Regions from separate parts of the Homo sapiens genome. Here region 2 is linked to region 1. The links are contacts of gene promoters, found by promoter capture Hi-C in blood cells and fetal thymus (Javierre and others, 2016). All regions are on one chromosome and are shown on one strand. Each heading gives the region's core, a stretch centred on a gene start or on the middle of the fragment in contact. The rest is flanking DNA. Distances are from core to core; before and after follow the strand shown.

Region 1 (7,101 bases), core at 2,364-4,863:
TCACAGCATCTGCCCTAGACAGTATCTTTGGAAAGCTCATGAGTTCGATGATTCCATTTGATACTTTTATCCCAACTCTGTTTCTTCTGCAGGGATCGACAAAAAAATAATAATAATAAAAATGCTGAAAACATCTTGTTCTGGGAAACATCAAGGAATCACAAAGGCTCAGAAGTAGTGCCCCACACAGCAGACAATTCTAGAAGGTTGGGAGACATGGGTCCCCAAAACAGAAAAAGGTGCTAGAAAGCCAACACCTATGTATCCTGCACCAGAAACATTCAGAGAACTTTCACAACTATGATGTCATTGAATCCTCTCTAGATGATGAAGGGATCAGCATTTCCCATTTTACAGAGGGGAAAACTGAGGCCATGAGAAAACGACATCAACAGAAAGAGAGCAGCTAAGACAATCCTTGAACCCAAGTCTCCTGACCTAGAAAATCAAGGCATTGTCAGAGCTGGGAGGGATCTGAAGAATTAAGTCCAGCTCCCTCAGTTTGTACAGATGAGCAAACTGAAGCTCAAAAAGAGAAAGAGGCCAGGCGCGGTGGCTCACACCTGTAATCCCGGCACTTTGGGCGGCCAAGGCGGGCGGATCACCTGAGGTCAGGAGTTTGAGACCAGCCTGGCCAACGCGGTGAAACCCCGTCTCTACTAAAAATACAAAAATTAGCTGGGCATGGTGGCGTGTACCTGTAATCCCAGCTACTTGGGAGTCTGAGGCTGGAGAATCACTTGAACCCAGGAAGCAGAGGTTGTAGTGAGCTGAGATCTTGCCACTGTACTCCAGCCTGGGCGACAGAGTAAGACTCCATTTAAAAAGAAAGAAAGAAAGAGATCATTCCTTTAAACTTCCTAATTTTACAGAAAGGGTGAGTGTAATCGGGCAGCCCCCAACGCAGAGTCCACACTCACCCAAGCGTGGTCATGGTGACAATGGTATACCAGAAGGCCGCAGGGATGCTTGTAAAGTTGGTCTTGTTTGTGCCCTTCTCAGCATAAAACATGACAGTGGCAAAGATGATGATGGCCATGGTTAGGGAAAAGAGGAGAAAGCCCAGCTCAGAGGCACAGCTCTTGAGTGTGTAGCCCAGAATCCTCAAGCCCTGTGAGTGCCTGGAGAACTTGAAGATGCGAAACACCCGGAACACACGCAGGGTGACAAAGGCGCCAGAGACATCGTCGTTCTTGGGCACCAAAAGCCCAATGTAGTAGGGCAGGATGGCCACCACGTCGATGAGGCTCATGACACTCCGCAGGAAGCGGCAACGGCTGGGGGCGGCAAACAGCCGCAGGAGGTATTCACCTGTGAATATGAGTACACAGGCTGTGTCCATGCAGAAAAAGGCCTGTGGGAAGCGTTCGCCACAGGGCTGCTCCCTTGAGGACCTGCGTGCAGAGCCGCGGCATGGGATGGTCTCCACCACATTGGCGATGACCGACACGGCGATGAAGAAGCCGGTCACATAGTAGAAAACGAGGGCTGCGGTGCTCGTGTGTGGATTCTCGAAGGCCCGCCAGAGCCGCTGCCGCAGGGAGCTGCCTGCTGGCAGGGCTGGGCCGTCCCCGGCCTGCTCTGCCTCCTCATCCTCTGCCAGGCGCTCGGCATTCTCCTTCTTTCGGTCCCGATACTCTTCAAGGCAGCAGTCACCGACTAGCTCGGGAACCAGGCCGTAGAAAGCCAGCTCTTCGTCGAAGGCCTGGATGCACTCCTGCCGTGGGCAATGCAGCCGCCCCGTTCGGTAGAAGTTCAGCACATGGCGGAACATGTCAGGGTCGCGATCGAAGAAGTACTCGCCTGAGTCAGCATCGTAGAAGAATTCCTTCTCCGAGCTGCCCAGCAAGGTGTCTGGGTAGCGGTCCAGCGTATTCTTCCAAGTCTCAAAGCGCCGTCCGCTCACGTTCACCACCAGAACCTCATCTCCTCGAGATGCCTTCACCCCCGGTGCCGGGGGCAGGGGTTGCTGGGCCAGGGGCAGCCAGCCCACTGCTGCTGCCCGAGCAAAAGGCAGCCACGTGGCCAGGCCTGCCGCCATCGTGCCACTCCCCAAGCCCAGGGAGACTTAGTGAGGGTGGCGTTTAGGAGAATGTGGCTGTCTCCAGGATGGTGGGGGCTTGGAGACACCTTGAGCCACCCAAACAAGGAAACTGGGGGTGTCTAGAGAGGCCAAGAGGAACCAGGAGGAAGAACTAAAGAGATGGGAAGGAGTCTGGGGGACATTTACAGAACCTAGGAGGGGCCTGGGCAATGTTCTGAGGGACTGAGAAGGGCCTTGGGGACATGGAGAAGAGCAGAAAAGGGGTGTGGGGATGGGGCCAAGAAGGAGCTGAGGGAGGGTTTAGAGAGACTGAGATGATTCTAAAGGAGTCAGCCTGTGCCTGAGAGGTGTCTGGGGGCGTCTAGAGGGGCCAAGAAACACGTGGGGAATTCTCTGCACTCTCAAGAGTCTCAGGGAAGGCAGAAGAGCCTGGAATTCCTTTGCAGTGGTGGAGAGGAGACTGGGGCATCCAGAGGGGTAGAAATGGGACCAGAGGTGCTTGAAAGAGACTGAGAGTGCCTGGAAGTGGGGGTTCTAGAGGGGCTGAGACAGGTGAGGAGGGTTGTCCACACCCTCAAGACTTCTAGGGGAAGCATAAGAGGGTTAGACCCCCCTCATGGATCTGGAAAGGGAGCTGGTGCATCTTGAGGGGTGGCTGTGGATCCAGGAGGTTGTAAAGAGGCTGAAAGGTGTCTTGGGACTGCCTAGAGTTGCCAAGAATAGCCCGGGGGGGTGTCTATACTCTACAGGAGTTCTGGGGAAGAAAGGAGAGGCCAGAGCCTCCTAGTAGGGCTGGAGAGGGGAAGGGGTTATCTAAAGGGGTAGACAGGGGGCTGGGTTATTTTTTGAGAGGCTGAGAGTTATCTGGGGGAGGTGGGTATCTAGACGGGCCAACAAAGCCTGGTCGACACTCTCAGGAGTTCTACAGGGAGGAAAAAGGGGCCTGGGGAATTCCAAGGGCCGGGACTCAAATGTTAGGAAGTTGGGCACAATCCCAGAGCACCCAGGGGATCTATGAAGACTAAATAAGAGGAAGGGGGTTAACCCCAAAATGGGATTAAGAGGGGGGTGGGGTGTTGAAAGGGAGTTGGGTGTGTCTCCAGGGAGGGGGGCTCCTGGGCTTTGCAGGAAGCTGGCAGGAGACGCCGGGAGAAGGCTGGGTCCCACCGTTGGGGGCAGGTCTGGGGAAACCACACCCCGAGGGGCTGGCGGTGTGTACTGGGCAGTGGCAGTAGCAGCAGCGGCAGCAGGAGGAAGAGAAGCAACCACAGCCAGGCATAGGAGAGAAGGTGGCATAGGCAGGGGGAGGGTGCGGGGTCCCTGGAAGGAGGCCTGGGAAGGGCAAGGTCCAGTGGGACCCCTGGGGACTATCCCAGGATGGGTTAGGGCGTGGGGGCTGGACCAGGGAAGGATGAGGACAGCGCTAGTGGTGGTCCCCCTCCCCCTCTCTCTCGGGGCGTCCTCACCTGTGTCCCCGCTGCAGGAGCAGCAACAGCGGTGGGGCTGGGGGTACCAAACACCCGAGCTCCTGGCCCCCTCTGCAGAGCTGCCTGAGTTCTCCTCCTCCTCTGGCTCTCTCTCCCCGCCCCTCTGAGCTTGCCGGGAGATGGAGAGGCAGGGAGGGGCCTCGTGGCTCCCTGAGCCCCCTCCCCTAGGACAGCCAGAGAGGGACCCTGGGGAGACTCCGCCTCCTACAAAGCTGGTTGGGCCTCAGTCGCGTCATCTGGAAAATGGGGGTGGCAGGGAACTTCGCCAATTCTCTCCACCTCCTTCCTGGACTCCCCTCTCTTCCTGCCCAGCTCCTACCCGCTCTGCCCCCAGGGGCCCCCACCCCCACTCGCCTGAATCAGCAGCACTTAGCAGATCCGATCGATGGGAAGGCGTCTGTTAATGGCCCCAGAGCGGAGTGCCACAGGGAATGATGCAGCGCTGTCCCCTCCCTGCCCCCCAGACTGTGGAAAGGCAGGAGAGCCAGGAGTCGGGGGTAATTGCTGGGGAGTGTTTCTCTAGATGGCCAAGCTTCCGAAGCCGCCCCCTTGAGGGGCGCAGCATGGGTTACAGCCCCAGCTCTAAGACTTCGGCTGTGGGATTGGAGCACGGGACTTCCTGTTTTTAGATATGAAATGAGGGTAAAGGGAATGTAGAGGGGGACAATCCAGGTCCCACCCCCCTACCATCTCAGGCAGGCCCCACTCCGAGGGGGTAGTCTCTCTTATCTGTCCATATCCAGTGGCCTCAAATCACACCTCCTCCGCTAGAGGGCTCTGCTTCTGGATGGCAGGAGCACTGATTATGGAATGCCTCTGGCTGGCTATGGGTGGGTTCAAACCCCAGCTTTGCCACTGACTTGCTGCATCCTTGAGCAAGTGACTTGCATTGTTTCCTCAGTTGTCAGATGGAGAGACTTATCCCAACTTGATAGCGTCATTTGGAGCATTACATGATGTGAAAGGTGATAGCACTGGACACAGCTCACACCAGGGATGCTTAATCTTAATTAAAGGAGTGTGATGACAGGGGCACTGTAATGCAGGGCCAGGCCTAGCCTTTCACCCAAGATTTACCCACCCGTGTAAACTTCCAATTGCCCATTTGGCACACTCCTGATTTGTCCATTTCTACATCCATTCCTCCACCTACCCATCCACCCATTCTCCCACCCACACAATCAATTCCTCTATCCATCCCTCCACCCACCCGTCCACTTAGTCGTTAATCTACCCACCCACTCATTCATCCATTTGTAAGTTCACCCCATTTGGCTGTTTGCCAATCTATCTGTATGTATCCATCCTCTGCCCATCTCTTCCCACCCGGAACACATGCAGGGTGACATCCTCTGCCCATCTCTGTCCATACATAGCTCCACTTGTCATTTCTTCTCCCACTCTTTACCCTTCCCATTCATTAGCTCATCTACCCATCCATCCATTCCCCCAACCATTGGTCCATTTACTCCTAACCTGTCCATAAACCCATCCATCCACCTGTCTACCTAAATCATCCACCCATTTGTCCATAGACCTATTATCCATCTGTCCATTTACATCTCTACTATCCATCCTCTATCCACCTACCAATCTATCTACCCATTTATTCATCTAACCACCTATCCATCCATCCATTTATTTCCCAATCTATCCATCATCAGTCCATGCAACCGTTCACTTATACATCCATCGGTCCATCCAACCACTTATCCATCCTCCCATCTGTCTACTCATCTATACCCACAATCCCATACATGTCTACCCATGTACATATCTGCAGGTATTTCAGCTCCACTCAGTTTGAGGGGCTGGTCAGCAGTAAATGGAGACAGGCTGGATGAGGGTGGGGAAAAGAGAGTAACGTTGCAGCCAGAGACCTCTCTCCCTATTCCAATGGTGTAAACCTCCCCGCCCCCAGCATATTCCTCCTGGTTGAAAAGAACGAGACGAGACAGTCAGTGGGTGGGCCCGTCTGGCCAGATGGTATTTTGGCTGCATAGCCTTTACACACACACACACACACGTGTTGCTAGAACGCTGAACATGGACCACACACCCACCCAGCATCCCCAATCCCAAATGCAGAGTAGCCAGGCTCCAGACATAAATTAAAAAATAAAATAAAATAAAATAAAAAGAGTTGGTCTCTGGGAAGGAGAGCTCATGCAGAGATGAAGACAGAAGCCCTTGGGAGCCAGGACCAAGAAGAAGGAGAAATCCCTGCCCCTTCCCTCAGGATCCCCACTCCCTGGTGGCCTCTGCCCTAAGACAGGATCATTAACACTAACCATCAGGCCTCTAGCCCCTTTAATGTCCAGTCTCCCAAGCTATTTGATTTTGGCTCCAGCCCTCATTTTTCCACCACAGCCCAAGGGAATAGCATCCTAGGGGGTAGGAAGGGGAGGAGGTGGGTGCAGCCTGCAGGTCTTTAGCTGGTTTCTCCTGGCTCTAGGTCTGGGTCAGGAGGCCCCACGCACTCCTTGCTGAGCCGCACAATTTCCTGGGACAGAACTTCCATATCCTAAGAAACAAATGAACCATCAGGGGCCAGAGAAGGGGACAGGCTGCTCCCTTGCCAAACGTAGGGTATCATCTGTGATTTCCCTCACACCCTTTCATTAATCAATGCTCAGCTGTGTCTGGCCTGGGATGAGAAGGTACTTGGAGAAGCTCACAGCACCCCCAACAGTGGGCAGGGCTCAGAAAAGTCATGAGGATGGGTGGGGAGCTACAGATAATGGGAGTGGGATGCCTCCTGTGGCATGGTGCTGCTGCAGGATACACCACCACTCTGGCCACCTGCTCTTCTAAGTGTGAGCTTGCTTCTCAAAGGCAGGAGCTGGGTCTGACCCCTTTCTAACTCTCAGAGATGGGGAAAGTCCTTGGGTGGCAGTTTGGGCAGAAAGATGTGTGTGTGGACCCATGGGCATGGGGGATCTATGGTAGACAAATTGGTGGACGAATGAATTGTCCAGAGGACAGATGGAGATCAACAGGTGGGCAGGCAGGTAACTGGGTGGGTGAAAGGTAACACAAGGGGCAATTGATGAGTAGATAAGAGAATGATATGTCAAGAAATGGGTGGCAGGACATGGGGTAGACAATGAGATAAGTAAGTAGTAGATTGGGTAGATGGACAGATGGGCAAATGGTTGGGTGAATGTGTAGATAAATGGATGAGCGGGTACATGGAAGGAATGAATGGATAATAAGTTGATGAGAGGGTGGAAGATGAGAGCATGATGGAGTAGTTGATGAGTGGGTAGGAGGATAGCTGGGAGGACAGGCTGGGTGGGTGGGCAAGGGGACTGGCAGATGACCCAGGGGCTATGTGGCTGGGTAGGCAGGTGGCTGGGTGAACAGATGGGTAGGCTGGCAGGCCACACTTGCCTTGTGCAAGTGCATATTCTTGGTGAGCTGCTCCTCCAGCATGTTCTGCAGCTTCTTGTTCATCTCCCGAAGGTTCTCGTCACCTGGCTTCACTAGGTCTCTCAGGACGCTGCCCAGCCCGCTGCGGTCTGTGTGGCCTGCTGCCACAGACACATCTGCAAGGGCCCAGGCTGAAAA
Region 2 (7,525 bases), core at 4,836-7,335, 85 kb after region 1:
CTGGGTCTGCAGTTCTGGGACCAAAGGAAGGTAGTTAGTGGGTAGAGTCATGGCTGGGGCTGTTGGAAGGGGAATTTTAGGGGTGGGGTTTGGAATTGTTGGAGAGTAGTTTAGTTAGGTTTGGGTATTACTGAAAAGGCATTTTGGGGATATTCTTGGGAGTTGATAAAGGGCAGTTTGAGGATGTAGAGCAGACTGCTGGAAGGTGCTTTAGGGGTGAAGATGAGGCTCGGGAGGGAAGTTTAGTGATGATATTTGGGGATTATAGAGTGGTCTGGGGTACAGTTGAGGGCTGGTAGGTATGGTCCAGTGTGCAGTTTGGGGGTCTGTTTTGAAGTCTGGATGTCAGAGGGGTGTTTTGAGTTGTGGTTGAGGAGCTATTGGTGGGTAATTTGGAGAGAAGTTAAAGATCATTGGATAGACTACTGTTCAGCAATAAAAGGAACAAACCACTGTTACATGCTACCACACGGATGAACCTCAAAAACATCAAGCTAAATGAAAGATGTGAGACACAAAAAATCCACATATTGCATTTTTATGAAATGTCCAAGAAAGGCAAATTTATAGAGACAGAAAGTAGATTTGTGGTTGCCTATGGTTGGGAATGGGAATGGCATTCAGTCATGAGGGATTTTTTTGGGGTAATGGAAATGCTCTAAAACTGGGCTATAGCGATTGTTGCACACTTTGGTAAATATTTTTTTCTTTTTTTTTTCTTTTCTTTTTTTTTTTTTTTGAGACAGAGTCTTGCTCTGTCGCCCAGGCTGGAGTGCAGTGGCATGATCTCAGCTCACTGCAACCTCCGCCTTCCAGGTTCAAGCTATTCTCCTGCCTCAGCCCCCTGAGTAGCTGGGATTACAGGTGCCTGCCACCACGCCTGGCTAATTTTTGTATTTTTAGTAGAGATGGGGTTTCACCATGTTGGCCAGGCTGGTCCTGAACTCCTGACCTCAGGTGATCTGCCCACCTTGGCCTCTCAAAGTGCTAGGATTACAAGTGTGAGCCACTGTGCCTCACTTAGGTAAATTTACTAAAGTTGTTGCATTGCACACTTAATCGTGGATGACTTTTATGGTACATAATTATCATTATTATTTTTTGAGATGGAGTCTCACTCTGTTGCCCAGGTTAGAGTGCAGTGGCACTATCTTGGCTCACTGCAACCTCCACCTCCTGGGTTTAAGCGATTCTCCTGCCTCAGCCTCCTGAGTAGCTGGGATTACAGGTGTGAGCCATCATGCCCAGCTACTTTTTTGTATTTTTAGTAGAGACGGGGTTTCACCATGTTGGCCAGGCTGGTCTTGAACTCTTGGCCTCAAGTGATCCACTCGCCTTGGCCTCCCAAAGTGCCGGGATTACAAGTGTGAGCCACTGTTCCCGGCCTGGTACGTAAATTATATCCCGGTTAAGTTGTTTTAAGAAAAAAATCACTGAGAGTGCTTTGTAATTTAGGTCACTTAAGTATGATCCAGGGTGCAAGTAAGTCTTTGGAGGGCTTAGGGGACACATTTGGGGCCACTGGAGTATGATTTGGGAGCCCAATTGGGTAACTACAGCAGGATGGTTGGTGGCTATTCGGAGGTACAGTTGAGGACTGTTGGAGAGTGTTTGAGGTGCAGTTTGGGTCAGTGGAGTGTGGGTTAGAGGTGTAGATGGTGCTGGAGGGTGGCTTGAAATGCAGTTGAAAGACCACAGAAAGTATAGTTGGGTTATATGGCACAGTGATAGGGGCTGTTGGAAGGTAATTTTGTGGGGATACGAGGGGAGGTCAATGAAAGGTGGCTGGGTAAGAGGGGTCCATGGAACATGGTTTGGAGGTAGTGTGGGTGACTGTTGGAATTATTTTGTGGTGCAGGTGAGGCCCACGTTGAGGGTAATTAGGAATGTTTGGGCTGGTGTTGGGGGCTCCTGGAGAGCCATTTTGGGTCAATGGAGTATGGTTTGGAGGGTACATGGAGAGGAGTTTGGGGTCAATGGAGGGTGTTACGGGTGCACATTGGAAGTAGATAGCAGGTGATTTGGACATGCTGTTTGGAGGGTAATGGTTTCAGGGCTGATTGCAGATGGTTTGATGGAGCAAACTGGGGGTAGTGTAAGGTAGTTTACTGCCACAGCTTGGGTGTCCATAGAGGGTGGACTGGAGGTACCGCTTGGAATCAACAGACAGTAGTTTGGGGATATAATTTGGAGGATAATGGAGGTTGGTTTGGAGTGCATTTGAGGAACAACAGGGAGGGTAGCTGGGGTTTACAGGTGTGGGGAGAGCTTACAGAGAGCAGCTTGGGGTACTGCTTGAGGGTCCCTGGGGGACGACTTGGGGTGAGGGGCGCCAGTAGGCTCCCTGAGGGGCGTGGCTTCGGCGAGGGAGGGCTCCGCCGCCCTCGAGAAAGCGTGTGCGCACGCGCTCCCAGCTTGTTCGCTCCTGGCGCTCCCAGGGCAAGAAAAATCGAAGACCCGAGCCGGCGCTTGCGCACTTAGTCTCCGCCACTGCTGTGGTCTCGTGCCCCGCCCCCCGGTCCCCCCACCCTCTAGGCTAGGCTGAGCGGCGGAGGTGGCCGTGCCGCTGGAAGCGGACAGACCCGAGTTAGAGGTGGGGGCGGGGGTCCATCGCCCGCGGCCGGGCCGGCGCTCCCCTCCTACCCTCCCCGCGACCCCCGTCTGGCCCCCACGGCTAACGGTAGCGCAGCCGAACACGGCCCACGGGCAGGGCGCCGAAGAGGAGCAGGCGCGCGCCCGGGGACGAGCAGGGCGCAGTGAGGGAGGGGCGCGTCCACTGCCCCGGCCGGCCGACCGACACCGACCCCGCCTACTGCGGCGCGGGGACCCTTGGTGAGTAACCAGCCCCGCCTGCGGAGGAAGGGAGGGGACAGGGTGGGGTGAAGGCCCGGAAACGCCGACGGGGCGTACCTGCGCGCGCACCCGCGACCTCTGACCCCGTGGCCTCAGCCCTGACCCCTTACGACCTGACTACATCTTTTTTAAACCTCAACCCCTGCTGGCCTTGGCCTCAGGACCTTCCATCCGAGCCCTGACCTAACCATATTCTGGCCTGGTATGGTCCTCAACCCCTGTTTTGTCCCCCTAAATCCAGTCCTGACCCCAAACCCCATCCAGTTATGTCCTGGGGATCTTTGACCTGACCCTGATCCTTGCCTGACCCCGTCTCATCTCTGAAACATCTTGCCCTATCCTAATGCCCAACACTGACCCCAGTTTCTGTCCTGACGCTTGACCTGTCTGTTCCCTAAACTCTTATCCAGTCTCCAAACCTCTTCCAGTCATGTCCTGTCCCCCTAACCACAATCTGGTGTAGTTCTGTCCTGATTCCTGCCCTCTAACTTCTGTCCTTTCTCTGCACCCTATGTGATATCCTCTCCTATATACTCGTGATCTGCATCCTGGCTCACCACCTTCGTCTCCTGCCTTGTCCCTGCCCCTGACTCTGCCCCGTTTTTCCCTCTTTTCTTGTCCCATCACCATACTCATTCCTATCCTCATTGTGTCCTGGTCTTTTCCTGTTCCTGACCTCCATCCTGAACCTGCCCTTTTCCCTGTCCCCTCCTTTGACCACTGGCTTAGCCTTTCCTAGTCATGTCTTCTGACTGCTGTTCTATGTTAATCCTGACCCCTGCCCTGCTGTTTTGTCTCTTTCTTGTACTTTTTCTCTGACCCTTGTCCTGAACCCCACCTTATCCCATCCCCTGGCCAGTGTTCTGGCTCATTCCCCATCCTGCCTCTTGACCTCCATCCTGTGATAACTCTGGCTCTATCTTGTCCCCTACACTCCTTCCTGTTCTGTCCCTTCCCATCCCAGCCCCAGGGTGTTCTTCCCCTTACCATGCCCCTCCACCCTGTTCAGATCTTCTTCCTTCCTAATATCCACTTGCCATCCCTTCTGAGCCGAGGACAGGGGTCCCATTATACTGTGCCCGGAACTTGAAGATTCTGCTGTTCCCAGGACCTCCGAAGTACATCCCAAATGCTTCTCTTAGCAAGAGCAAGCAGCCCTATGTGCCCTGCGTGGCTGATGGGGGTTTTTGTGTGTGATCTCCCCTATCCCCACCCTAGTGATCTTACATAGAGCTTACATTTCTCTTCCTGCCCCAGGAGGGCATGCAACTGTTCCTACGCCCCTGCCCTCTGCAAGTGTGAAAGAATACCCTAAATTATTCAGTGACTCTCTGGGAGTCTGAGAGGTCTGGGTCATGTTTCCAGTCTTGCTGTGTTGGGGACTGCCTCATGTTGGGGGGAAGAGTTAAGAAAATATGAAGAGATGGGGGACCCAGGGGTATGTATGAATCTTCTAGGCCATGTTTGATTCTGGGTGCATGATCCCTGCTTTCCTGGACTGAAAAAGAAGAAGTCTATTCTAGGCCAAGGCTTCGGGACTTGGTATAGAGGAGGGATGGGGTCAAGGATTCATCCTCCTTCTCTCAGCAGTAAGCAATAAAAATCTTGGTGCTAAGTCCACTCCACCTCTGTGGGGCTTGTCTTGGGGGAGAAGGCCAGGCAGTCACTGGATTTAAGAATCAGGCCTATCCAGTGGTAACAGTAACAACAATAATGCAGTGTTCCCCTCATTGTCCGAATCTCCTTGATTCTGAGGATGATGGGGAGAACTTGGATAGCTAGAGGGTAATGTGTTACTCAATTGGGTTTTGTTCCTGCATTTCTCATAGAGACTAGTGAGTTTGAATAACAAGATGCCAGACCTATCTTATCCTGAAAATCTATCCAAACCTATTGATAACAAAACAAGCATTCCTCACTTTCCCAATCTATTTGGTACCTGAATTCTGAGAGGGAGAGTGCCCGAAGTTCAGACAGTGAAACCTACCAAGTTATTTGAAGGTATTTTGTTTTCACATCTTACATAGTGAGTAGGGAAAATTGAGATAATGAAGAATAATGACTAACTAAAAAATGTATCCAAATCTATGAACTTTCCTGAGCTCCAGGGACAAGAGTTGGGATAGTGAGGGTACCCTGTTATGTAAATGGTTCCTGCATTTTGTTTGGAGGGTAAGGAAAGTTCAAGAATGAGGGATACCAGTCGTATCTCAAAAATGTTTCTGAATCCATTCAGTTCTTGCATTTGGATGGTGAGAGTTCAGACAATTTCTCTGAATGTATTTGGTTCCTGCATTTTTGATGTTGAGAAAGGAGAGGTTGGATCATGAGGGAAACAGCTCTGTTTCAAATATGTCTCATTTGGTGAGCAGGGAGGGTACCGTGTCTAGATAGCAAGTGGGATTTGGAAGCTGAGGGATACCAGTTCTGTCTCAAAAATGCATCTGAGGCCGGGCGCGGTGGCTCACGCCTGTAATCCCAGCACTTTGGGAGGCTGAGGCGGGTGGATCACGAGGTCAGGAGTTCGAGCCCACCCTGGCCAAGATGGTGAAACCCCGTCTCTACTAAAAATACAAAAATTAGCTGGGTGTGGTGGCACGCACCTGTAATCCCAGCTACTCGGGAGGCTGAAGCAGGGAACTGCTTGAACCCGGGTGGTGGAGGTTGCAGTGAGCCGAGATCATGCCACTGCACTCCAGCCTGGGTGACAGGGTGAGACTCCGTCTCAAAAAAAAAAAAAAAAAAAAAAAATTGCGTCTGAATACATTTAGTCTCTGATTTTGGATAGCAAGAGTTCAGACAAGTTATCTGAGGAAAAACAACTGTTTCAAATGTATCAAGTGAGACTGAAGGACACCAGCTCTGTCTGGAAAAAATGTGTCTGAATGTATCTACTTGATTCCTGACTTCCTGTGGGGAAGAATACTTGTAACTGTGACAGCCAACATACACTGAGCTCTTACCAGGCACTGTTCTGCACAAGCTTTAAATGTATTAACTGATTTAATGCTCACAATAGCCCCGTGAGGTACATACTGTTATCATCGTCCCCAATTGACAGAGAGGCACAGAGAGGTTAAGTGACTTGTTCAAGCAGTCACACAGCTAGTAAGTGGCAGAGCTGGGTTGAATCCCAGACTCACCATTTACTAGTGACAGCAGGGTCACGTGAGGCCCAGGGCCCAGCTGGGGTAGGGCTTAGAGGTTGGGTCCTCTTCGAGGCTATTAAAAGTCATGGACCAGGGCAATGATGTGTGTTAGTGACTGCCCCATTTGTCTGCCTGGCCCAGGAGGTCCAGTTACCTGCTCTCCCCCAGTTACCCCCACAACAGCCCACCTCTGTGTGAGTGTATTAATTGTTGTTAGTAAGAGTCATTAATGACATGGTGTGTTTCCTTGCACTTTGAAATGCCTTTCAAAGTTATTTGGGGCCTCCATTGTCTCTGTAACCACCTTTTACCCATTTTACAGATGAGGAGACCTAAGCTTTGAGACTCAATCTACATTGCCAGCCAGATTCTCATCCCTCTTGGCTCTGATTTTATTACTGTCTCACTTCCCAACATCTTTGGTGGCCCATAAGAGGTGGGAGAGGCTGTGGCCGAGAGGACACTCCCCAATGCCCACCTTACCACTGCCCGCCCCAGGCAGTGAAGTGGGGAGGGCGATGAAAGGGGCCTTTGTGTTCCATGCTGGAAATCTCACACCCAGGAAGAAAGGTGGGCAGGGATGGCGGGAGGCCTTAATAGTATGAGTCTGGGGCATTGCTGATTCAGAGTGAGCTCCTCTCTAGGCTCAGCCCATCTGCAGCTTTTCTCACTTCAGGTCATGGTGTGGGCTGCTGCAGGGGTCTGGGTAGGGCTTGGGCCCTGGGTCACAGAGCAGATGGTCCTGAATGGAGCACAGGATGTGTGCTGTGTGCCGGGACTGGCCCAGAGCTCAGGTGGTAGTGGTGATGGTGGTGGTGGTGATGGTGGTGGTGGTGGGCGGGGTGAGGGGAGGCAGGGACAGTACGTCGTAAGGACTCAAAGCTCTCATTTCCTTCTCTGGCATGAAGCCTGACTCTCTGAAGAAGAGAGACCCAGCATGGATGTGAAGAAGCATGAGCCCCCTTCCCTACTTCTCCTTCCCACTTGCAGGAGTAGCCTCTGTCTGCCTCCCAGCCAGGACCCAGCCCCCGGAAATTCTGATTTCACCTGCTCTTCTGCCACTGTGATCTGAATCAGGCCTCTTCACCTTTCCAGGCCTCAGCTTCTGCATCTATAAAATGGCTGTGAGGAGGCTGGGTCTGTGCCATCCTGCTACATTTGTAGGAACCAAGAGGGATCAAAACCCATAAGTGTTTTGTAGGGTGTAAGTTGTGCTTGATTTATTGAGATTATTTCTTCTGGAGCCACAGAAGGATCTTGAGACCTGACCTCTCCTTAGAAAGGTTGACTTCCTCTGTCCCCAACTTGGGAAACTATTATTCCCCAGTGAGGGTGGGAATTGCCCCAAGGCCTTCTACCACTGCCTTGCCCTGGGAGGAAAGGGTAGGGGCCTCAGAATGTGATGCTTAGTGCCAAGACACAAAAACTCAGTTTACACCCGAAGCCTCCCATGTACTTTACAGCTCCCCACACCTCTATGGCCCAGATCCAAGTTGCCCCTTGGGTGGGCAGCGTCTAATCCT

Evidence for each region. The method cuts DNA at HindIII sites, captures the fragments that hold promoters and counts their contacts. A CHiCAGO score of 5 or more calls a contact.
Region 2: a fragment that was not itself captured here is called in contact with the fragment with the promoter of KCND1 in region 1 in 1 of 17 cell types (M2 macrophages); the score reaches 5.3 in M2 macrophages.

The regions. Positions count from the first base shown.
Region 1 is chrX:48,968,231-48,975,331 of GRCh38, forward strand. KCND1 (potassium voltage-gated channel subfamily D member 1) reads right to left here and starts at 3,614. Exons shown (of 6, transcript NM_004979.6): 1 at 921-3,614. The coding sequence starts at 2,041. It overlaps GRIPAP1 (GRIP1 associated protein 1), which reads right to left. Exons shown (of 26, transcript NM_020137.5): 25 at 6,925-7,079; 26 at 5,493-6,055. The coding sequence ends at 5,963. The HindIII fragment of the contact is 6,364 bases long and covers 1-4,061 here.
Region 2 is chrX:49,051,046-49,058,570 of GRCh38, forward strand. It overlaps a transcript of CCDC120 not described here. Among named protein-coding and RNA genes, the nearest start is that of CCDC120, 4.2 kb to the right of the region's middle. RefSeq lists an enhancer at 2,295-2,589 and silencers at 2,511-2,590, 2,641-2,940. The HindIII fragment of the contact is 503 bases long and covers 5,835-6,337 here.